Linked DNA regions of Homo sapiens: region 2 is linked to region 1. The links are contacts of gene promoters, found by promoter capture Hi-C in blood cells and fetal thymus (Javierre and others, 2016). All regions are on one chromosome and are shown on one strand. The core of a region is centred on a gene start or on the middle of the fragment in contact, and the rest is flanking DNA. Distances in the headings are between cores, read along the strand shown.

What was found. The method cuts DNA at HindIII sites, captures the fragments that hold promoters and counts their contacts. A CHiCAGO score of 5 or more calls a contact.
Region 2: a fragment that was not itself captured here is called in contact with the fragment with the promoter of CCDC71 in region 1 in 5 of 17 cell types (endothelial precursors, M1 macrophages, erythroblasts and 2 more); the score reaches 7.2 in endothelial precursors.

The regions. Positions count from the first base shown.
Region 1 is chr3:49,164,449-49,169,258 of GRCh38, reverse strand. CCDC71 (coiled-coil domain containing 71) reads left to right here and starts at 2,928. Exons shown (of 2, transcript NM_022903.4): 1 at 2,928-2,992. RefSeq lists enhancers at 2,647-2,766, 2,787-2,856 and silencers at 3,007-3,086, 3,107-3,166. The HindIII fragment of the contact is 8,654 bases long and covers 1-3,401 here.
Region 2 is chr3:49,320,947-49,325,756 of GRCh38, reverse strand. It overlaps USP4 (ubiquitin specific peptidase 4), which reads left to right. Exons shown (of 22, transcript NM_003363.4): 4 at 1-38; 5 at 718-863; 6 at 994-1,055. Among named protein-coding and RNA genes, the nearest start is that of USP4, 17 kb to the left of the region's middle. The HindIII fragment of the contact is 4,741 bases long and covers 466-4,810 here.

The DNA of each region.
Region 1 (4,810 bases), core at 1,679-4,178:
TTTCAAATGATTCTCCTGCCTCAGCCTCCCGAGTAGCTGGGACTACAGGCACGTGCCACCATGCCCAGCTAATTTTTTGTATTTTTAGTAGACATGGGGTTTCACCATGTTGGCCAGGATGGTCTCCATCTCTTGACTGCGGGATCCGTCCGCCTTGGCCTCCCAAAGTGCTGGAATTACAGGCATGAGTCACCGCGCCTGGCCTAGAATCTTTTGCAGGCTCTGCTTCTTCTCCATCACCAGGAATTGGCTCCTCAAGATTCAACCCTGGCTTTTCTCCCTGGCACACATATTTCCTCTTGGGGCAGTCCCTCCCAGGCCACTGCCTTCATTCACATCTAAAGCTCCATCACATCTCTCTGCTCAGATAGAGCTGGGTCCAGGATCCACTGAGAACCATATAAGGCTGGAGGGGCAGGTGGCTCACACGTGTAATACTAGCACTTTGGGAGGCTGAGGTGGGCAGATCACCTGAGGTCAGGAGTTCAAGACCAGCCTGGCCAACATGGTGAAACCCCAGCTTGACTAAAAATACAAAAAATTGGCCAGGCACAGTGGCTCACGCCTGTAATCCCAGCACTTTGGGAGGCCAAGGTGGGTGGATCATTTGAGGTCAGGAGCTTGAGACCAGCCTGGCCAACATGGTGAAACCCCACCTCTACTAAAAATACAAAAATTAGCCAGGTGTGATGGCAGGCGCCTGTAGTCCCAGCTACTCTGGAGGCTGAGGTAGGAGAATTGCTTGAACCTGGGAGGCAGAGGTTGCAGTGAGCTGAGATCACGCCACTGCACTCCAGCCTGGGCAACAAAGGAGACTGTCTCAAAAAAAAAAAAAAAAAAAAAAAAAAGGAAGAAGAAGGAAAAAAAGAACCATATAAGATGCCAAATGGAAAGCAAAGATTGGGTCCTGGGATCACCCTGTGTTCTCTCCCATCTCATCCTGTCTGGTCCCAGTTGTGCCTGTAGGCTCAGCAGCCACTAGAGTCCAGGTCAAGTCAGACTGCACTCTGATGAGCGCTCCCAAAGAGTTCCATCTAGGGCATACTGGGCACCAGGAGGCAAAAAGTTCGGCCCTACCACCCCCAAAGGGAGCTAGGTACCCCCATGATCCTTATCCCTAATCTCTATCATTTCCCCAGTTCTCATGTCTGGAAGGGACACAGCACAGCCGGAGGATGGACCTACCCTTCCTGGTTTTCCATTTGCCCTAACTTCTGAGCTGAACATCACCAGAGAGGGGTCTGGATATAACTGTACTGTTGCTATCCCTGGAGGATGGGCTCTGGCTCTCCATGGAAGGGGTTTCTGTTTGCACAGCCATGGCCCACCTGCACACAGGAGGCCAACACTGCCGGCTTTGGAGAAGCTGCAGAAGGTAACTGGTTGAATCGGTCCTGAATAAGTGAACAGTCAATCTTCAACCATGGACGGCCAGAGACTGGACTCACCCACAGCTGGGGACTGGGGGCACCAAGGTGGGGCTTCCTGACTGCACCCCATGAGATCCTGGCCCCTGGGACCCTACTCTTGCTTTCTCTCCACCAGGAAAAAAAGGCTAGAAGCACTGACCCCAGAGGAACAGGAGATTTTGCAGTTCCTGCTAGATACCTTGGCTATACTTAAAAGCAGCGAGGACCTCACCATTAGTGCTGAGGCCCTGGGAAGCTAAGAGGCACCAGATGAGGCCTATGGCACTGCTGGGTGGACTAGGCACTTGTCTTTAGGAGTGCCTGGACCCCTCTGTATAAGCAGGGAAAATACAGAGCAACCAGAGGATCCTGGTTGGAAAAAGGGCAGGAAAAAGGGCTAGTACCCAGTCCCTAAATGAAGCATCCCGCCACCCTCCTGTGATTGCCAATAGGCTTCCACCTGACCCCAACTACCAAATAAGGCACCACTGCAAGGGTCAGAGTCCAAGAGTTGTGGCAATATTTCTGCCTCCTGGCTCAGGCTCTGACCCTAGTGCAAATGCCCCCACTACCTCATCCATGAAACCAGGGCTCCCAGGATGGTTCCCAACCTGGACTTGCAAACCTCTGACTAATGGGACCTTTGGTCAGAGCTGTGGAGACCACTCTGACCTCTCACTGAAGTCACAGACCCCTAGGGTTGATTTTGACCTGTGTCCTATAACCACCACCCCGTACTAGCCCAAGAGCATGGATAAAAAGACTGAGGTCCCAGACTCCTAGGCAAAAGGAAAGGGGTTCTGGGCAGTGTTAAGACTGGAAGCAGGACTTCCTTCCATTGAGGGGCTGAGGCTGGGCCAGTGACTATACCTGCCCCCACCTGCCTGAGCAAGTATACTCAGGCCCACAGTGGTATACTGGAGCCCCCAGACTCCATGTGCGCTTGGGCTTGCGTGCACCACTTGTGATCACGTGCACACCAGCCTTTCATGCCATGTGCCACAGGCCCTATTCTCAGGAAGAGAGGAAGGCCTGCTGTCCTCGGAGAAGATACCCTTACTGCAAAACAAAGGAGATCACCTGAGACTCCCTGTCAGGAGGCACTCCTCTTTCACCCTCTGGTCAGGTGTCTGGGACTGAAGTGGGCATTGTCAGTGGCTAAAGATAGATCAGAGGGTGGAAGATGGCCTGAACCTTGTCAGGAGCCCCTCCCAGATGTCAATGCACCACTAGCTCCCCTCAGAAAAGGTGTCAGATGACCCCTAATCCAGTCTTGGCCGGGCTCTAGTGAGTCCTTGCCTGGGGCCGCGTCAGAGGGCACCTCTGTTCTTCAGACTTCTGCACAGGGCCGAACGGGTTTGGAGCAGTCACCGCGGCCACCACCTCCAGGCAGTCCTCCTTGGTACCCAATCTGCTCCGCCCCCAGACTTTGTGGGGAAATGGGGTCTCAGGGGTCAAGGGTCGGTAGGGCGGGCTGGGTCCCGGAAGCGGAAGCGCAGTGCACTTCCGGCGCGCAGCGGGCGGCCATGTTGGAGCAGCGGAGGCGGCGCAGAGGCGCGTCTTGGGTCCCCGCGGCGGCGCCGGTAGGTTGGAGCCGCGGGCCTAGCCGCGCCGCGGAGGGGCGGCCCGCGAGGCGGCAGGGCGGACGGGCAAGCGGCCAACTCTTCCCGGACCCGCGTCCTCCGCCGGCCTGGCCGAGACCCCCCACCCCACCCCCACCCCGCGCCCAGCGACCCCACCCTGGGGCTGTGCGGTCCCGGTAGGGCTAGCACCGTTCACCCTGTACATTTCGCTGCCTCAGTGACCCCCGCCTCACGGCTTGGGCCCTAAGGACGTGCATTCCCAGCCTGAGGGCCCCGATCTGCCCCCTCCCCCGGTCTGCCTGTGTGGCGCCTCTCTCACGCCCTATCTTCCGTCAACTTCTCCTGCCTTCCCCGGGGGCACGTGTGAAGGGAAGTCGGAGGCCGGGCAGGAGCCTCTGTTTCCGAAGCTTCTCGAAAGCCCAGAAAACCCCTCCCAAGAGCCCAGCCTAACCTGGGTGGAAGAGCCCCCAGGTCACCCCAAATATTTGCGCTGGGGCGCGTGTGAGGGTGGGAAATAGGTCCCTCTCTCTTCTACAGTTCACAGCTCTGGGAACTACATCCCTTCAAAAAACATTAATAAAGAACTAAAGTCATGTGCAAGGATTGTGCTTGGAGAACGGTCTCTGGGGAGGGGAAGTGCCCAAGACACCTGAGGATCCAAGAATGTTTCCAAACAAAGAGCCCTAGGGCATTTCCTCCAGGGTATTCTGAAGACTTCATCTGCTGCATTAGAGCGGTGGGAAGAAACTACACAGACGGGCCTCATGGCCCGAGGGACCTGCCTGATCCTGGCTGATCTTTTAATGCTCTGGTGCAGCTGGGGAGCTGCCTCTTGCTTCTGGGAACCCTCAGTGTTGGGTTGGGTATTAGATGTTAGTTATGATTGATGTCCACAGCTTCTTTAAAGAAGTCTGGGAGTAGTTAGGTGTTCTCAGTCACCTCCATCTGGGCTGTACTGAGGTCTGTGGCCCTCCAAGTCTTAGGTAGGACAGTGCATACCGCTAATGTCCCCTTGACTCACCATCCTACTTGCAGCCTTTGGCTCCCATTGTCCTTAAACTTTGGGATCTTGGTCTGGCTTCCTGGTCCCTGGTCTGCCTGGTTGCCTAGAGAGATGTCATTGGCACCTGCTACTCATCAGCTTTTTAGTTTCTGTTGAAGAAAAGTCCGACTCTTGATTAGGTCTCCATGCCTCTGGAGCTAGAAAATGGGTTGCTGAGTACCCTGTCTAGAGACTGAAAACAGAACTTCTGGTGGGCAGGGAGATTCCCCCACCCCACTCCAGCTCCACACATGAACAGCAGCAGCTGGAGAAACAGATGGGCATGGACAGTGGGTGTAAGTCTGGGCCCTTTGGCTAACATTCAGGGTTCTTTGTTGCTCTATCCTCGCCTGTTTTTTCACCTAGATCCCAGATCCCACACCAAGTATGCCTTAACCCTTTCTCACTTTGGAGCCATTGCATTAGCTATTCCCCTTTTTGTTCCATTTCCATCTAATCATTTTTCATTCATCACTCATATCCTAGCTAGGTGTTGTCTCTCCCAGGAATCCTTTCCTGACCCATTGGCAAACTGAGCTGAATGCCAGCATTCACTCCCAAGAATCTTAACAGTGTCTTTTTCTGGCCTTCTAACCTAGGTTCCTTGAGGACAGGGATATTGCCTGTATTCCCAGAGCTGAGTAATTCTAGGTTTCTGGCTTCAGAAAATACAGAGTTGAATTAAAATGTACCAGGCTCAAATCTTTTCAGGGACCCGGCAGCAGGTTGGATGGCTCTGAGGTATTTCTGAGCATGTATCTTGAAGAAACTCCCTG
Region 2 (4,810 bases), core at 1,587-4,086, 160 kb before region 1:
TGTGCTGAGTTGCCATTTCAGCAAGGCAGACACCATTGGTGAGAGGCTGGGCTGGGGTCCCTGGTATGTGGTGAGAGAGTGTAGGACATTGTGGCTGATGGGAGGGAAGAGGGCATTATTTTATATGCCCTCTTTAGATTTGTTACCCAAATCATCTCGAGCTGTAGTTGCCAGTCCTGACCTGGGGGCCTATTCCTCCAGGAATTCTTATGGAGAGAACACTGGGCCTGCTCCTTGCCCATTTGTCTATGATAATGAAGATAAGGAAATGTAGATCCAAAGAAGTTTAAAAATAACTTATTTAAAAATCTCAGCAAGGTTTACAGTGAGCTACGATCCCACCACTGCACTGCAGCCTGGGCATCAGAGCAAGATCCTGTCTCTTAAAAAAAAAAACAAATCGCAGCCAGAAAATGGTGGAGCTAGCTTTTGAAGCCATATCTGAGTTAACTCCAAAGATAAGCTTTCTCGCTTTCTATGTTGCTTTTGCGCCATAAATGAGAGACACACGTTAGCAAAGAAGCATAGGGATACTTTCCAGGCATATGAGTGCAAGAGGCCACCCATGGGAGATGATTGATTTTAAGAGGTATCAGGGGGTTGATCCAGAGCACCTGTGAGCATCTGACAAGAAAGAGGATGAGCATTAGTTTGCCATGGCTGTCTTTAGCCTTGCATGTGGACAAAGCCCCAAGTGATATTTCTGCCTGTTCCTAGCAACCATCGAGAAAGAGATGCGGAAGCTATTCAACATCCCTGCGGAGCGTGAAACACGGCTCTGGAACAAATACATGAGCAACACCTACGAGCAGTTGAGCAAGCTAGACAACACTGTCCAGGATGCTGGGCTATACCAGGGTCAGGTAGGAGGGCCCTGGCCATTCCCCAGCAGGTAGCTCTGCCCAGGGTGTGTGGCCAGATACTTTTTGCTTCTAAGCATGTTGGAAGTGCGGTGGTTTGAACTCTCCTCATTTGGTTTCCCCTTTCACTCAGGTGCTAGTAATTGAGCCTCAAAATGAAGATGGCACATGGCCCAGGCAGACCTTGCAGTCAAAGTAAGTGAATTTTTTCTCCCTTGTTGTAGGCTCACATGTGCAAAAGAGACAGTCTTTCCTAAGGCAGTACTTGTACTAAGAAAAATTGTTCTGATTCAGATGAACAATGCCTATTTTGTATATCCAGAGTTCATGCTTCTGGATGAAGACCGTGGCTTTTGGTAGCAGGGCAGCATCTAAGGGAAGCCTGTCAGGATATCTCAGCAAGGTGGCGAGCCTCTGCTCGTGGAGAATGAGAAAAGGAGGAAGGGATATGAGGGATCAAGTCTAAGGTTGCTGCTCTACCAGGAGGTTGCTTTGTTTTTGTCACGCTTTTATTTTCTCCACATGTAGTTAGAGGCCTTGATGGATAAGAGGAAGGCTAAGGCATGGGGTTTTATATGACTTAAAAGTGATAGTTGAGGCCTGAGCATGGTGGCTCATGCCTGTAAGCTCAGCACTTTGAGAGGCCGTGGGAGGTGGCTCACCTGAGGCCAGGAGTTCGAGCCCAGCCTGGTCAACATGGTAAAACCCTGTCTCTACTAAAAATACAAAAATTAGCTAGGCATGGTGGCAGGTACCTGTAATCTCAGCTACTCGGGAGGCTGAGGCTCAAGAGTCGCTTGAATCCAGGAGGTGAAGGCTGCAGTGAGCTGAGATCGCACCATTATACTCCAGCCTAGGTGACAGTGCAAGACTCTGACCCAAAAAAAACAAAAACAAAAAAAAAGTGATAGCTTGATTCTACCTGTTTCTGCCCAGTGGCCTGTTACTCATTGTTGCCCTGGGAGCTTGCTGGGTGAATTGTTCAGCTACAAAACTTGGACTAAGGACACATCTGTTTCAAGAGATGTTCATGTGGTATGTGGAACTGTGCATGTTCTTAGGGAGATAAAGAAGTGATTAATTTTCGTTATGGTATAAGTTTTGGAAATTATATCTGTGTTCCAGTAGTTATGGGAATAATGTTGCGCTCTGTCCTTTTCCCTCTGTCAGGCCTTGGACTGTGACCATTACATAGTAGTGGGCTCCTAGGTCATTTGAGAACCATGAAAACTATGAGTTCTTAAGAGAAGAACTGTTAGAACCCCTGAAGTCCAGTCATGGACTCCAGTTTAAGAAACCCCGGTTGCCAGTTGTTGACAAGATAAATAAAATAGCTGTGGTAGGCATAGCTGTGCTCATCTTCACCCTGAGATATCCATATCCTAATTCCCAGAATCTGTTTCAGAATCTGTCATTATGTCAGGTGACATGGCAAAAGGGACTTTGCAGATGGGATTAAGCACAATGGTGAGTGCCTGTAGTCCCAGCTACCTGACAGGCTGAGGTGGGAGCATTGCTTGAGTCCAGGAGTTTGAGGCTGCAGTGAGCTATGATTCTGCCATTGCCCTCCAGCCTGGGCGACAGCAAGACCCCATCTCTTTTTTTTTTTTTTTTTTTTTTTTTTTAAAAAGGCCAGGAGCAGTGGCTCATGCCTGTAATCCCAGCACTTTGGGAGGCCGAGGTGGGCGGCTCACCTGAGGTTGAGAGTTTGAGACCAGCCTGACCAACATGGAGAAACCCTGTCTCTACTAAAAATGCAAAATTAGCCAGGCGTGGTGGTGCATATCTGTAATTTCAGCTACTTGGGAGGCTGAGGCAGGAGAATCGCTTGAACCCGGGAGGCGGAGGTTGCAGGGAACTGAGATTGCACCATTGCACTCTAGCCTGGGGAACAAGAGCGAAACTCCATCTCAAAAAAAAAAGAATGTCTGTTCACCAGTGAGTGAAGACAAGCCATAAGCCATACAGTGAGAGAAGAGATTTGTAATCCATGTCTGACAAGTTGTGTCCAGAATTTTTTTTTCTTTTTTTTTTTTCCCTGTGACGGAGTCTTACTCTCTTGCCAAGGTTGGAGTGCAATGGTGCGATCTCAGCTCACTGCACCCCCACTCCCGGGTTCAAGTGACTGATGCCTCAGCCTCCCGAGCAGCTGGGACTACAAGCTCCCACCACCATGCCCAGCTAATTTTTGTATTTTTAGTAGAGACAGGGTTTTACCATGTTGGCCAGGCTGGTCTTGAACTCCTGGCCTGTAGTTATCTGCCTGCCTTAGCCTCCCAAAGTGCTGGATTACAGGCATGAGCCACCACAGCTGGTCGTATATCTAGAGTTGCAAAGAAATTCCTACTAGTCAATACAAACAAGTCAGGCAACACTAGTAAAAAAAAGAGGCAAAAATGTAGAATTATATGCACATTCTGCTACTCAACAATCCTGTTGTTAGGCATATAACCAATAGAAATATATCCCATGTTCTCTTAAATACATATTTCAGGATGTTTGTGCTAGCACTGCTTGTCATAGTTACAAACTGGAGCTAACCCAAATGTCCATCAAAAGTAAATGGATAAACTGCAGTAAGTGTAAGCACACAAGGAAATTCTGTCCAGCTTTGCACAACAGTGATGAGTCTAATGAAAAATGATGAATGAGAGAAGGTAGACACAGAGCAGGGCATAATGATTCTGTTGACTTAAAACTTTATAACAGGCAAAATTAACCTTGGGGATTCATGGTCAGAACTGGTTAGTGTTGGGAAGAATTGCGACTGAATCGTGAGAAGGACACCTAGGGGTCTGGGGGTGTCCTGTTTCTTGGTCAGGGTAGTGGTTACATGGATGTATCACTTGGTGCAAATTTCTTGATTTTATACACTCAGGGGTTTTGTTTTTTTGTTTTTTTAATAGACGGAGTCTTGATCTGTAGCCCAGGCTGGAGTCCAGTGGCATGATCTCGGTTCACTGTAACCTCTGCCTCCTGGGTTCAAGCAATTCTGTGCCTCAGCCTCCTGAGTAGCTGGGATTACAGGTGCATGCCACCCATGCACAGCCAATTTTTGTATTTTTAGTAGAGACGGGGTTTCACCATGTTGGCCAGGCTGGTCTCGAACTTCTAGCCTCAAGTGATCCGCCTGCCTCGGCCTCCCAAAATGCTGGGATTACAGGCATAAGCCACGGCGCCCGGCCAAAAAAAATCAATAATAGGCCAGGTGCGGTGGCTGGCCAACATGCTGAAACCCCATCTCTTAAAAAATAGAAGAAAATTAGCCCGGTGCAGTGGCACATGCCTGTAATCGTAGCTACTGGGGAGGCTGAGGCATGAGAATGGTGGTGGGGATTGCAGTGAGCCTAGATCGTGCCACTGCACTCCAGCTTGGGCGATACAGTGAGACTCTGTCTCAGGAGAAAAAAAAAAAAAAGGTACAATAATAATCAAGGTTTAAGAAAGCAACTAGTATCTATAATATTCCAGAGATAAATTCTGGGTAATTCCAACATAGGTGAGGAATTAGTATAGAGCAGAGAGAGATGAGAATGTCCAGAACTACTATTCTTGAGGATGAGAAAGGTGAACAATTGTAAGTTTATGTAATTTATGGGGAAAAATAAAAATAGAGATCCTAATAAGTTAATGGAACAACTAACAGAAACGGAAAATTGAATGTATAACTTTGAAACATACTACGTCAGTTAGGAAAGGCTTGCTGGCAGGTAAGAAAAATCTGCAAATTAGCGTATTAAGCAAGATGGAGGCTTACATCTTTCTGAAAAGAATTTCTGACGTAGGCAGTCAATCCATTGCTGACGTAGCAGCTCCATGGCAATATTAAACCCAGCTGACCTACCCCTTCCTTTTTAGGACATTTCTCAGATATCATACATCAAACCTCCTTTGTATCTCATTGGCTAATCATATGACAATACCTGGCTTTCAGGAAGGCTGGGATGTAC